Regions from separate parts of the Homo sapiens genome. Here regions 1 and 3 are each linked to region 2. Evidence: promoter capture Hi-C in 16 types of primary human blood cells and fetal thymus (Javierre and others, 2016). All regions are on one chromosome and are shown on one strand. The core of a region is centred on a gene start or on the middle of the fragment in contact, and the rest is flanking DNA. Distances in the headings are between cores, read along the strand shown. Region 1 has its middle 14 kb from the start of UNC13A. Region 2 holds the start of JAK3 (Janus kinase 3). Region 3 holds the start of MAP1S (microtubule associated protein 1S).

Region 1 (4,769 bases), core at 1,678-4,177, 150 kb before region 2:
CAAGCCTAAGTGGCCACTGAGGTCTTGTTCTAACCCGTGTCTCCCCACCCCCAGACCTCTCTCTGATGCCCCCAACTGCACTGGCAGGGAGTGACCACCTTGAACGGAAAACGGAATCAGAACACTGTGGGCACTCCATAAACATGAGTGAGTCAGTACGTGGTGGAGGGAGTGAGGGAGGGATGGAGTCGGGGGCGGGGAGGGGGGCAGGTCAGCAGGGATACAGACTATGCCAGGCCTCCTGATCACAGGAAAGAGTGTGGGCTATACTATGAGGGTAATAGGGAGCCACGGGAGGGCTTTGAGCAGAGGAAGGGCGTGATCTGCTTTATGATTTTTTTTTTTTTGAGATGGAGTCTCGCTCTGTCGCCCAGGCTGGAGTGCAGTGGCGCGATCTCGGCTCACTGCAAGCTCTGCCTCCCGGGTTCACGCCATTCTCCTGCCTTAGCCTCCCAAGTAGCTGGGACTATAGGTGCCCACCACCACGCCCAGCTAAATTTTTTTGTATTTTTAGTAGAGACGGGGTTTCATATGTTAGCTAGGATGGTCTCGATCTCCTGACCTCGTGATCTGCCCATCTTGGCCTCTCAAAGTGCTGGGATTACAGGCGTGAGCCACCGCTCCCGGCCTGCTTTATGATTTTAAGAATCCATCTGGGGCTCCCTAGGGGAGCAAGGATGGCTGGGGGCAGGAGTGTAGGTGGCAGGGAGCCAGGACAGCATCCACACAAGATACAGCAGGCCCCTTAGGAGCTCAGGGAGGCTCAGTTTCATTCTGGAGCCGGAGACTGCAGGACCTGCTGATGCACTGAACATGCAGGGTAAGGAAAGAGAAGGGACAAGAATGAGTCCAGGTCAGGTGCAGTGGCTTATGTCTGTAATCCCAGCACTTTGGGAGGCCGAGGCGGGAGGATTCCTTGAGGGAGACCAGGATTTTGAGATCAGCCTGGGCAACAGAGTGAGACCCCATCTCTACAAAAATTTTTAAATGAGCTGGGCATGGTGGTGTGTGCCTGTAGTCCCAGCTACTCAGGAGGCTGCAGTGGGAGGACTGCCTGAGCCAAGGAGATGGAGGCTGCAGTGAGCTATGACTGCACTACTGCACTCCAGCCTGGGTCTAGGTGACAGAGTGAGACTCTGTCTCTTTTTTAGTTTGTTTGTTTTGTTTTGTTTGTTTGAGACAGAGTCTCCCTCTGTTGCCCAGGCTGGAGTGCAGTGGCACAATCTCGGCTCACTGCAACCTCCGCCTCCTAGGTTCAAGCGATTCTTGTACCTCAGCCTCCTGAGTAGCTGGGATTACAGGCACCCGCCACCACGCCCCACTAGTTTTTTGTATTTTTAGTAGAGACAGGTTTTCACCATGTTGGCCAGGCTGGTTTTGAACTCTTGACCTCAAGTGATCTGCCTGCCTCAGCCTCCCAAGGTGCTAGGATTACAGGCATGAGCTACCACGCTCGGCTGACCCTGTCTCTTAAAAAAATAAAATAAAGAGGGCCGGGCGCGGTGGCTCACGCTTGTAATCCCAGCACTTTGGGAGGCCGAGGCAGGTGGATCACGAGGTCAGGAGATCGAGACCATCCTGGCTAACACAGTGAAACCCCGTCTCTACTAAAAATACAAACAATTAGCCAGGCATGGTGGCGGGCGCCTGTAGTCCCAGCTACTCACGAGGCTGAGGTGGGAAAATGGCATGAGCCTGGGAGGTGGAGCTTGCAGTGAGCCGAGATGGCGCCACTGCACTCCAGCCTGGGCAACAGAGCAAGACTCCATCTCAAAAAAAATAAAATAAAATAAAATAAAGAGCGTATCCAGGAATCAGGACCCAGGCTACTGTGTGATAGTGGAGGCACCAACAGGATGGAGAAGGGGCAGATCTCAGGGCGAGTAACTATTCTAAGAGCCAGGTTTTGGCCTTGTGAGTGTGAAATGCCTGCAAGGCACTCAGTGGAAATATCCAATGCCATTGGATACTGAGGCCTGGAGCTCTGGGGAGATGCAGGCTGGAGACACCAATGGGATAGTCGACAACACGCAATGAGGTGTGGCTATTTGGGGCAAGGGCATAGATACAAGGTCAAGGGACACCCTGCTCTTCCAGGACTATCAAAGCCAAGACATCACACCCAGGGGTCCACCCTTTACAACTCTGTCCATGCCCAACGCCAGTCCCTGTTATCAGGTCAGCAGGAATGCTACCTGCAGGGAACATGGAATTCAGTGTCCTTGGGCTTACCATAGGTGCTCCTCTTCTTCTCTCAAGTGCCTATTTATTTATTTATTTATTTATTTATTTATTTATTATTTGAGATGGAGTATCACTCTGTCACTAGGCTGGAGTGCAGTGGCGCAATCTTGGCTCACTGCAACCTCTGCCTCCTGGGTTCAAGCAATTCCCCTGCCTCAGCCTCCCGAGTAGCTGGGACTACCATGCCCAGCTAATTTTTTTTTTTTTTTTTTTGTATTTTAGTAGAGATGGGGTTTCACCGTGTTGGCTAGGATGGTCTCAATCTCCTGACCTCGTGATCCACCCGCCTCGGCCTCCCAAAGTGCTGGGATTACAGTCAAGTGCTCATTTATAGATGGGGAGACTGAGTTCCTGAGAGTTTGGGGCAGCAGGCAGCGGGGCGGGGGAGGGGGACAAGGCTGGGACGTGAAGTGGGTCTGGAGTAACTCTCAGAATAGGCCGTTTCTGCAATGCAGACGTCTGTGTAATCGTTCATTCATTCAATGAACGTAGTTTGGATCCACACCCTTGCCCATCTCGCGCTGATCTGAAAGGGGACGTTTCTGTTAGGTGTGGTGGCTCACGCCTGTAATCCCAGCACTTTGGGAGGCCAAGGTGGACGGATCACCTGAGGTCAGGAGCTGCAGACCAGTCTGGTCAACATGGTGAAACCCCGTCTCTACTAAAAATACAAAAAAAAATTAGCTAGGCGTGGTGGCGCCTGCCTGTAGTCAGTCCCAGCTACTTGGGAGGCTGAAGCAGGAGAATCACTTGAACCTCAAAGGCAGAGGCTGCAGTGAGCCGAGATCACGCCACTGCACTTCAGCCTGGGTGCAACAGAGTGAGACCCCATCTCAAAATAATAATAATGATGATGATAATAATCATAATGATGAAAGGGGCATTTCAACGTTCACCATTGAGCACTCGGATCCAATTAATTTTTAAGCTCTGGTGCCCCATTTTCTTCCAGCCAACAGCTCAGCTAATTCCAAAGCTATTGATTTGAGCCTTCTCATCCCTCCACTTAATTATGCCGGTGCTGTCTGTATCTTCTCTTGCCCTTTTTTCTCTGCGGCTCCTTCTTTGCCAAGGTCAAGGGTCCAGCGAGCAAGGAGGATCTCGCTCAGCACAGGGAATTGGAGGAAGGACATTCCTGGCCGAGGGCAGGGTGTGTGCAAAGGCTCTGAGATTGGACCTCTTATTGAACTTAATTGTAGCTGTCAGGCTGCCTGGGGCAGAGAAATCGATGAGGGCAAACTTGGCTTATCGCCTATAAAATGAGGATAAAAAATAATGGTTTCTGCCAGGTGCGGTGGCTCAAGTCTGTAATCCCAGCACTTTGGGAGGCCAAGGCGGGCAGATCACCTGAGGTCAGGAGTTCAAAACCAGCCTGGCCAACATGGTGAAACCCTATCTCTACTAAAAGTTTAAAAATCAGCTGGGCGTGGTGGCGGGCGCCTGTAATCCCAGCTACTCGGGAGGCTGAGGCAGGGGAATCGCTTGAACCCAGGAGCCAGAGGCTGCAGTGAGCCGAGATCGCGCCACTGTACTCCAGCCTGGGCAACAGAGTGAGGCTCTGTCTCAAAAACAACAACAATAACAACGACAACAGATAATAATAATAATAATTAATAATAATGGTTTCCCAGAGAATTAAATGGGACAAAGGCAACATCAATCTTTTGAAAGTTCCAGGCCCTGCCCTGCAGGGATGTAGGGTGGAAATAACACTAGGCTGCAAAATGACTGGATGGGCCTGGAGTGGTTGGATGGGATTGGATGGATCATAAACAAAAGTGATTGGATTGGTCAAGAGGAGGAGACGGAGGCAGGAAATAAAGGCAGACAAAGGAACGTAATAGGTTCAGACCCAATGGAGGCGAGGTTCCGGACTCAGAGAGGGGGCCTCAGCCCAAAGTTCCCAGAGTGGCCAGCTGGGGGCAGCATAAGCCATTAGGCCATCCCAGGGCTGGGAGCAGAGGGGAACCAGGGACCCTCTGTGACCCTCTGACGGAGGTTAACTTATTTGACATGTGCCTGCAGTGTGCCAGACATGGAACAGAACTCTACAAGCACTCATTTAATCCCCATAATAGAGTTTGCAGATGGGGAAACTGAGAACAACAACGTTAAGTTGCTCACCCAACGTCACACATCAGGGGAGTGGCAGAGCTTGGATTTGAATTTAGGAAGCCCAGCTGAGGCCCTTAACCTCTGCACTCTACTGGCTCTCCTTCCCCTAAATCTCCTAAAATGACAGTTTAAAACTTTTTTTAAGGTGGCGCCGGGTGGGGGGTGGGGGGCGGGTGTGGGTAGGGCACGGGCATGGTGGCTCATGCCTGTAATCCCAGCACTTTGGAAGGCCAAGGCGGGCAGATCACTTGAGGTCAGGAGTTCGAGCCCAACATGGCCAACATGGTGAAACCCCGTCTCTACTAAAACTACAAAAATTAGCCGGGTGTGGTGGCGCCTGTAGTCCCAGCTACTCGGGAATCTGAGGCAGGAGAATCACTTGAACCTGGGAGACGGAGGTTGCAGTGAGC
Region 2 (4,656 bases), core at 837-3,336:
CTTACTCTGCATCCTGGGTTCAAGTGATTCTCCTGCCTCAGCCTCCCAAGTAGCTGGGATTACAGGGGCACGCCACCATGCCCGGCTAATTTTTGTATTTTTGGTAGAGACGGGGTTTCACCATGTTGGCGAGGCTGGTCTGGAACTCCTGACCTCGAGTGATCCTCCTGCCTCGGACTCCCAAAGTGCTGGGATTACCGGCGTGAGAAACTGCGCCTGGCCTAATGAGGTTTAAGACAATCAGAGGACTAGGACCCCTAGGACTCAGCTTTCGCAGCTGTGAAATGGGCTGACTCCCCAGCATCCTCATTGAGGTGGTCTGCTGAGCGCAATCCAGGCCTAAAGTGTCAACTCAATTAATGTGCATTAATTTGTATATTTCTTGATGATGTGCCGGTAAGCGATCAACAAACGCCTGTTAAACCAAACAGGAAGGGCAATTGGCACAGCGGTGTGGTGGTTACTGTGGGAAGGGAAGTCTTGTGGGGGAAAGAACCTTACCAAAGGGACACTTTGATGTCACCGATGCCCAGACCAAGAATGAGCACATTCCTAGTCCCGGGAACCTTGGAGGAGCCCCATCTCTCCCACAGAGAGATTGATGTCTAGTTTTGCCCTTTATAGAAATAAAATCACACACCATAGCCTCTCTATCGTCCCCTCAACATCAGCCAATCAAGTTTTTTGGTTTGTTTGTTTGTTTTTTTGAGACGGAGTCTCGCACTGTCACCCAGGCTGGAGTGCAGTCGCACGATCTTGGCTCACTGTAGCCTCTGCCTCCTGGGTTCAAGCGATTCTCATGCCTCAGCTTCCCAAGTGGCTGGGATTACAGGCGCGCACCACAGCGCCCAGCTAATTTTTGTATTTTTAGTAGAGACGGAGTTTCACCATGTTGGCCAGGCTGGTCTCAAACTCCTGGCCTCAGGTGATTCGCCTGCCTTGGCCTCCCAAAGTGCTGTGATTACACACGTGAGCCACATTGCCCAGCCTTTTTATTTATTTATTTATTTTGTAGGGGGGAGGACGGATTCTTGTTCTGTCTCCCAGGCTGGAGTGCAGTGGCATGATCTCGGCTCACTGCAAACTCCACCTCCCAGGTTCAAGCGATTCTCCTGCCTCAGCCTCCTGAGTAGCTGGAATTACAGGCACCCGCCACCAAACCTGGCTAATTTTTGTGTTTTTAGTAGAGATAGGGTTTCACCATGTTGACCAGGCTGATCTCGAACTCCTGACCTCCAGTGATCCGCTGGCCTCAGCCTCCCAAAGTGTTGGGATTAAAGGCATGAGCCACTGTGCCCAGCCCCAGTCGAGTTTAAAATAAGGCTTCAGTGGCAGTGGCGCCCCACTGCAATCCCAGCTACTCAGGGGGCTGAGGCAGCAGGATAGCTTGAGGCCAGGGGTTAGAGACCTGCCTGAACAACATAGCAAGACTCCCATCTCCAAAACAACAAAAAAATCTTAACAGAATATTATTATTCTGTAATACTGTAACAAAAAAAAATGAAAAGTCAGAGGTGATGTTTGGTCCCAGAAAACGCCATAGTTTTTTTGGTTTTTTAAAAATGTTTGTAGAAATGGAGGTCTGGCTATGTTGCCCAGGCTGGCCTTGAACTCCTGGCCTCAAGCTATCCTCCCGCCTCGGCATCCCCTGTTTATAATCCTCAACGTTCTGCATCCTGGTATGGTCGGGTACCCTGTGTCTGGACCGGGAAGGCCTGGAGGGTAGGGGCTGGGAACTCCGCCCCCCAATCCCTCCTTCCCAATCCCTCCTCCCCACCCCCAACCCCGCAGCCCCCGTCGCGCATGCGCAATGACTCCTCCAGGTCCGCAAGGCAGGCATCTCCCGGCCTTAGTCAAAGCCGAAGCCCAGAGAAGCGAGCGATCGGAGGATGCGAGTCTCGGCTCACGTCTGCCTCGCAGCTTTCCTCCGAGGCCTGGAAGGCGAGCTAGCCTTTGCCCTGGCAGCACCCTGCCCCAGCCCAGCCATCCCCCGCCACCACCATCCTCCCCCAGTGTCTGGGCCGAGCCCTGCGGCATCGCCAGCTCTTACCTAGCGGGCAGGGACCCTGGACTTTCGAAGGGCGGGCAGAGCCGGGAGGCAGCGAGAGGAAAGTCCCACTCGGCTCCTTCCTGTGTGGGCCCCTTGGTTTCCTGAGCCACTGTCATTTACCGAAAGTCAGGGCCCTGCGGGAGCTGGGGGCGGGGAGGCGGGCAAGGAGGGGCAGAAAGTTCCGGAAGCCTCTGCATCAGCCGCCCCGTTCAGACAGGCTGCTGGAGACCCCTAAGCCAAAGGAACTGATGATAGCACAGAGAAGGGTCTGGGTCACACCAGGGGCTCAGCCGACTCTAGACCCACTTGTTAAGTGGGGCTCTGGCCCGGCCCTTATTGCCTCAGTTTACCCATCTGTAGCATGTGTGAGTTGGGCACCCAGTGGAACTAATTTTGCACCCAGGGAAGGAAACCTGGCTGGATTTGCCCAGGAGGGAAGCAGGGAAGTTGCCCCAGAGGAAGGTCAAGTTCTTCTTTGAGGTATTTCTCCCTTAAGACTCAGGGAGACGCTGGGCGCAGTGGCTCACGCCTGTCATCCCAGCACTTTGGGAGACTGAGGCGGGCGATTACTTGAGGTCAGGAGTTTGAGACCAGCCTAGCCAACATGGCGAAACTCCGTCTCTACTAAAAATACAAAAATTAGCCAGGCGTGGTGGCCTGTAATCGCAGCACTTTGGGAGGCTGAGGCGGGCGGATCACTTGAAGTCAGGAGTTTGAGACCAGCCTGGCCAACATGATGAAACCCTGTCTCTACTAAAAACAGGAAAATTAGCCAGGCCTGGTGATGCCTGTAATCCTAGCTACTCAGGAGGCTGAGGTGGGAGGATTGCTTGAATCTAGGAGGCGGATGTTACAGTGAGACGAGATGGCGCCACTGCACTCCAGCCTGGCAACAGAGCGGGACTTCGTTTAAAAAAAAAAGAAAAGACTCAGGGAGAGATAATGACCCATTTCTGCCTGTGGTGCCCTGGGCCCAGCCCTAAAAAACCAGGTGGATCCGGCCTGGCCTCTTGGAACTTGTGATCTGGCGCTGAGACAATGAGCAAATGAAGGAGCCAAATCATCGCAGACAACAAAGAAAGCCAGGGTGTCAGGACAGGCACAGACTGGAACTTGGACCCGAGGCAGGACAGGGAGCTGGCCAGGGAAAGGGTGCTCCAGGAGGAGGGCACAGGATGGGCAAAGACCTTGAGAGGGCAGTGATCTTAGCAGCTTGAAGAGCAGTCAGGAGGCCAGGGGCAGGGGTGAGATGAGGGGGAAGGGGACTGCAGGGCGGTCAACAGGGGCAAGATCGTGGGGGGACAGGGGGATCAGGGTCTTTGGGAGAAGGGTGGGTTTTGCCTGGAGCATAATCTGGAGCCACAGGAGAGTTGGAAGTAGGAGCTGTTATAAATAGAAGAGGCAGAAGGCCCGGGCAGCATCCAAATGCAGAGACTTGGGCCAGTGTTCTTAGGATAATAGGATCAGAGCCCCGGAAGTAGAGCTTCAGGAATAGACTGACGAAGTGGTGACCGGGTACAGTGGCTCACATCTGTAATTCCAGCACTTTGGAAGGCCCAGGTGGGAAGATTGCTTGAGCCTAGGAGTTCGAGACCAGCCTGGCCAACATGGTGAAACCCCATCTCTACTAAAAATATAAAAATTAGCTGGGCGTGGTGGCATGTGCCTGTAATCCCAGCTACTTGGGAGGCTGAGGCAGGAGAATCACTGGAACCCAGGAGGCAGGCGGAGGTTGTAGTGAGCTGAGATTGTGCCACCGCACTCCAGCCTGGGCGACGGAGCAATACTCTGTCTCAAAAAAAAAAAAAGGAATAGATTTAAGAAGTTGTGGCCAAGAACAGTGGCTCACACCTGTAATCTCAGCACTTTGGGAGGCTCAGGCAGGAGGATGGCTTGAGCCCAGGTGTTCGAGACCAGCCTGGGCAACATGGTGAAACCCTGTCTCTACAAAAAATACAACAACAACAAAATAATAAGCTGGATGTGGTGGCATGTGCCTGTAGTCCCAGCTACTAGGGGAGGCTGAGGTGGGAGGATCACCTGAGCCCAGGAAGTTGAGGCTGCAGTTAGCTGTGGTCATGCCACTGCACTCCAGCCTGGGCAATGGGAGTGAGATCCCGTCTCAAAAAAAAAAAAAAAAAGACTTTTCATCTCTGTATCACCATCACAAGTCTTAACACAAAATGGTTTGGTAAGTATTTTGTTGATCTTAACTGTTCAATCAGCCAGAGGCTTATTGGACACAGCCTGTGTGCAGGGAATCGGGGACAATGCAGACCCAATCCCTGTCCAGGGGAGCTGACAGTCCAGCAGGGGAGATGGCAATAAACAAGCTATTGCCCAATAATTATATCAGTTGCCCCTGGGACCGGTCTGCTAAGAGAGATGACTGGATCTGGGAGGGCTTCCTGGAGGAGGTGGCTTTGATTCTGAAATCCAACAACAAGTGGGACTAGCCAGAGAGTGACCTGAGAATGTGGGAGTGTGGGCAGTTCTGGCAGGCAGAACAGCCCAGGCAAAGGCCTGGAGGCTTCACGAATTCACAGTGTTCCTGAGAAGAGCAGGATGTCAGGGACACGGGGGGCTGAGACTCATTTGATGGCGTG
Region 3 (4,992 bases), core at 1,680-4,179, 130 kb before region 2:
TTTGAGCAGTGGTCTCAGAGGCTTCTCAGTTTCTAGGGAAATGCACCCCACATGTCCCACACCAGAGTCCTCAAGCTTGGGAAATGCTTTGGGACAGGAAGACCTCATGGCTCCAAGTACTCAGGACATTATCTCCCAAAAACCTAATGGGGGAGACCTTCATCCCCAAATCAGATCCCCCTAGTGGAGACATTTCTTCAGGCCCTGTAAGACCAACTAGTAATAGAATTAATACCAACAGGCCGGTGCAGTGGCCCATACCTATAATCTCAGCACTTTGGGAGGCCAAGTGGGGCAGATTACTTGAAGTCAGGAGTTCGAGACCATCCTGGCCAACATGGTGAAACCCCATGTCTCTACTAAAAATACAAAAATTAGCCAGGCATGGTGGTGGGTACCGTAATCCCAGCTACTCAGGAGGCTGAGGCAGGAGAATCCCTTGAACCCGGGAGGCGGAGCTTGCAGTGAGCCGAGGTTACACCACTGTGCTCCAACCTAGCCTGCTTGACAGAACAAGACTCTCTCTCTCTCTCTCAGAATGATTCTGGCAAGGGCGACAGAGTGAGAATCCGTCTCAAAAAAAAAAAAAAGAAAGAAAAAAAAGAATTAGTACCAACAATCATAATTCACAGCGTGGGCAGAAGGAAGTGGATAGACTTCCATTCAGAAGCTCCTGGGTTCGAATCCTGGACCCATCCATAAATACACAAGGAAGGAAGGAAGGAAGGAATAGTGGACAAATAGGCCTTTCAGCCCATTCCAAAAGACTTTATCATATCCCTTCTCAGATGCCCAAGCCTTGTGTTGCACAAGGCCAGGGCCCCAGAGAGGCCTCAGGCTTCCAAAAGTTTCCAGCCTTATAGGGGAGATAGTGCCCGACACAGACACTCCCACTACTATTACTGCTCACAGCAATAACAGAAGAAATCACAGGCAGGCGAGACACAGGGAAGGGAGCCAAGGGGGAGGGACAAGGATAGAGGAAGGATGCCAGAACCAAAAAGAGAGAGAGGAAGTGGAGTGCAAGAATGGTAGACGGCACGTGGCCAGTGGCTGTTACACACTGGCCAGGGAGGAAGTTGGGCTGAACAACCTAGATAATAAACGGCAGCGGGAGGCTGATTCGCCTTCCCAGATCTTTCCCATTTCTGTTCTGCTTTTCTTTGCATACTCCCGGAGACAGGGAGCTCACTCCTGAGAAAGGAGGTTCAATGTTTCCTGGGCATGGACCACTGTCCAGAAGTTCCAAGCAAGATGATTTGTCAAGTAGTAGCCCCTATGGGTCAAAGGGCTAAAGGGGGCCAGGCGCGGCGGCTCACGCCTGTAATCCCAGCACTTTGGGAGGCCAAGGCAGGAGGATCACTTGAGGTCAGGAGTTCGAGACCAGCCTGGCCAACATGGTGAAACCCCATCTCTGCCGGGCACGGTGGCTCACGCCTGTAATCCCAGCACTTTGGGAGGCCGAGGCAGGCAGATCACGAGGTCAGGAGATCGAGACCACGGTGAAACCCCGTCTCTACTGAAAATACAAAAAATTAGCTGGGCACAGTGGCGGGCGCCTGTAGTCCCAGCTACTCGGGAGGCTGAGGCAGGAGAATGGCATGAACCTGGGAGGTGGAGCTTGCAGTGAGCCGAGATCGCGCCACTACCCTTCAGCCTGGGCGACAGAGCGAGACTCTGTCTCTAAAAGAAAAGAAAAGAAAAGAAAAGAAAAGAAAAGAAAAGAAAAGAAAAGAAAAGAAACCTCATCTCTACTAAAATACAAAAATTAGCAGGGCATGGTGGCGGACACCTATAATCCCGCTACTTGGGAGGCTGAGGCAAGGGAATCGCTTGAACCCGGGAGGCAGAGGTTGCAGTGAGCTGAGATTGTGCCATTGCACTCCAGCCTGGGCGGCAGAATGAGACTCCATCTCAAGAAAAGGAAAGGAGAGGAGAGGAGAGGGGAGAGGAGGGGAGGGGAGGGGAGGGAGAGGAAGGGAGGGGAGGGGAGGAGAGGAGAGGAGAGGGGAGAGAAGGGGAGGGGAGGGGAGAAGAGGAGAGGAGGGGAGGGGAGGAGAGGAGAAGAGAGGGGAGGAAAGGAAAGAAAAGCCTAAAGAGGATTATCTGGGGAGAGAGAGGTACCCATGTGCGCAACGCAGGCAGTCCCTTGCACAGGCTGGATCTAGAGTAAGACCCACTTGGGTTCAAACCTGCTCTACCACTTACAGGCCTGGTGACTTCATCCCTCCAAATCTCAGTTTCCTCTTCTTTCCTCTGAAAGTGACCACAGTAACTGTGCCTACTCATCTGTGCCTACATACAAGCACAAAACTCATCGCTTTGTGCTTGTATGTAATGAGCTAATGCAATAAAATACCTGGCGCACAGGAGGTGCAGAATAAGTGTTGCCCTGTTCCAGGCAGGCCCAGAGTGCTCCGGTTGTGTCCCAAACACACATGTACTTTCTTACCTCTAAAACTTTGCACCTGCTGTAAACTTCTGCCTCACCAGCTCTTGCCCCACCACCCACAAGGCAAACTCCTACACATCCCTTAAAGCCCTACCTACAAGATAGATTTCTTTTCTCTGTTCAAGCCCTGACCTAGAGAGCTGGGAGCATCCATAGGCACCGGGTTCTGATGCGGCCTACTGTCATGTGATGTGAGTTCCTGGAGGGCAGGAGTTCTGACCTACATGCAGCAGGCACGCAATCAAAGCTTGTTCAATGAAAAAAAAAATGAATGAATGGTCACTTGGGAGAGGCGGCTCCCAAGCGGACACCCAGGAGTCGGCCAACCCCTTTAACGCCCGCATCCCCTGCTCTCCACGACCTCAAAGGGCCTGTAAGTGGTCGACAAAAAGGGGCGGGGATGCGGTGGTTCCGGGCGGGGTCTTCAGCCCTTCCGGTGCGGCCCCTTTAAGAGGCGGGGCCTGCGGGGCGGGCGCCGAGAACGCCGGGGCGGCCCGAAGATGGCGGCGGTGGCTGGATCTGGGGCTGCCGCGGCTCCGAGCTCACTGCTCCTCGTGGTGGGCAGCGAGTTCGGGAGCCCGGGGCTCCTCACCTACGTCCTGGAGGAGCTCGAAAGAGGTCGGGCTGGCCTGGGGGCCCGCGGGAGCCCGGGAGGCGGGCCCGTTCGCGCGTCTGGGCCCGGGGCCGGCGGGGTGGGGCGGCGGCGGCGGCGGCGGCGGGACCCGGGCTCCGGGGCGGGGGTCGCGGGCCTGGGGCTGGGTCCCCTTCACCGTTAGGCGCACGACGCGGGCAAAGGCGGGGTGCCCGTGGGTGCCCGCGGAGAAAGTGGCATCCGGGCCTGGGCTGGGCAGGGCTGCCCCGCCCCAACTCCGGGTGAAGATAGGGGAGGGGACACGGGCCTGGGCTTGGGGACCCTTGCAGTTGGACCACGGCTCCGCTTCCCGCCTGACTGGCCTGCCCGGGGGTAGGGCCTGGGGTCGCTTTGGATCTCCAGGTCTTAGCAGCTTAGATAGAGATCTCCCGGAGGGAGAAGCAGATATGGGGGAGGCTGGGCCTGGAGCCCCGGGGCCCGCTTTCTGTTGCCTCACAAGGAGCTGCTAATTGGGGTGTGGGCGGGTGCGGCCTGCCCTGGGGATTTGGCACCTAGGGAGGTGAGTCATAGGCGCACCTGCCAGGTTCACCTGCAGCCACTTGGCTCAGTGGGACTGGCGGGCGTGATGCGCCCGTGGGTGGAGATGGGTGTTCATCCCCCATCCCTCGGAGCATCTGGACCTGGCGTTTCATTGCATGTAAAATGGGACAGGAACACGCACCTCGGTTCATGTGCTTGAGGAGTGTTTAGTGAGCACCTGCTATGCGCCAGGCCTTTGGGCAGTGGACACAGGGATATGGCCGGGATGATAGACAGGTTCAGCCCTGCCAACACAGGTCTGGTTTGGGGATGGACCCAAAGCGAGTGAGGAGATGGAACAAGCTTCCAGCTCACATGGTGTCAGGAAGGATGAGAAGGCTGCAAGGGACTGAGAGGACAGTCAGTCTTAGCACCCGAAGGTGCTGAGGGGGAAGGGCCCCCTGGCCAGTAGGAACAGGTGGGGGCGGCAGGGGGATGGACTTCCAGGCAGGGGAAACAGCTGTTGCAAGGGCGGTGAGTGGAAACGGGTCTGGCAGGGCATAGGAGCAGCGAGGAGGTGGAGATGGAGGAGGTGGAGGCTTTGTTGCTGATGAATCTTGTGTGTAAAATGATGAGGTGTGCTCTGGGTCCCCTGGCTCAGCTGCAGCGAGACCTGAAGGTGTTGGGTACTTCTGAGTCTCCAAGCTGTGAGTGAAGGGAGGAGGCTGGGGCGCTCCCCACCCACGGGGTGCTAATTATTGAAATATTCTGGGAGCTGGGGGGCCCGGCTGAACTCCCGCCTTGATCCCTCCTTCCCACCAGGCATCCGGTCTTGGGATGTCGATCCTGGCGTCTGCAACCTTGATGAACAGCTCAAGGTCTTTGTGTCCCGACACTCTGCCACCTTCTCCAGCATTGTGAAAGGTGAGGCTGGGGTCCCCCTGACTGCTCCCTACCTCTTGTTATTTGGGGAAGTGCCAGCCGTGTGCCAGGCATGGGGGGTGGGATGCAGCTATAAATAACAACAGTAATAATACAGTTGAGACCTTTCAAATGCAAGCCGTGACCCAGTGATAACCCCCTCAGTCCTCAGCAACCCACAGTGCAGGAACTGGTGTTTTTGTCCCTGATTGACAGATGAGGAAATTGGCATTGAAGGGGGAAGAGGCAGGGAGATCTCTGAGGAGGGGGTTTTTTGATGAGAAACTGCTATGACTGGTGTGTCCAGTGGAAGGGAAGGGCCCCAGTCAAGACCCAGCAGTGGACAGAACATCTAGAATGAACCGGGCGCGGTGGCTTACGCCTCTGATCTCAGCACTTTGGGAGGCCGCAGCGGGCGGATCACTTGAGGTCAGGAGTTGGAGACTAGCCTGGCCAACGTGGAGGAACCCTGTCTCTACTAAGAATACAAAAATAACGGCATGGTGGC

The links. Contacts are between HindIII fragments. The CHiCAGO score rates a contact against its expected background, and 5 or more counts as called.
Region 1: a fragment that was not itself captured here is called in contact with the fragment with the promoter of JAK3 in region 2 in 1 of 17 cell types (total CD4 T cells); the score reaches 5.6 in total CD4 T cells.
Region 3: a contact is called between the fragment with the promoter of MAP1S here and the fragment with the promoter of JAK3 in region 2, in 13 of 17 cell types (non-activated CD4 T cells, naive CD4 T cells, activated CD4 T cells and 10 more). The highest score is 10.1, in non-activated CD4 T cells.

The regions. Positions count from the first base shown.
Region 1 is chr19:17,699,899-17,704,667 of GRCh38, forward strand. No RefSeq gene overlaps it. Among named protein-coding and RNA genes, the nearest start is that of UNC13A, 14 kb to the left of the region's middle. RefSeq lists a silencer at 1,461-1,688. The HindIII fragment of the contact is 7,500 bases long and covers 1-4,769 here.
Region 2 is chr19:17,845,896-17,850,551 of GRCh38, forward strand. JAK3 (Janus kinase 3) reads right to left here and starts at 2,087. Exons shown (of 24, transcript NM_000215.4): 1 at 2,051-2,087. The HindIII fragment of the contact is 7,731 bases long and covers 1-4,656 here.
Region 3 is chr19:17,716,551-17,721,542 of GRCh38, forward strand. MAP1S (microtubule associated protein 1S) reads left to right here and starts at 2,930. Exons shown (of 7, transcript NM_018174.6): 1 at 2,930-3,070; 2 at 4,386-4,487. The coding sequence starts at 2,953. RefSeq lists enhancers at 960-1,461, 3,512-3,581, 3,972-4,121 and a silencer at 3,112-3,161. The HindIII fragment of the contact is 1,227 bases long and covers 2,698-3,924 here.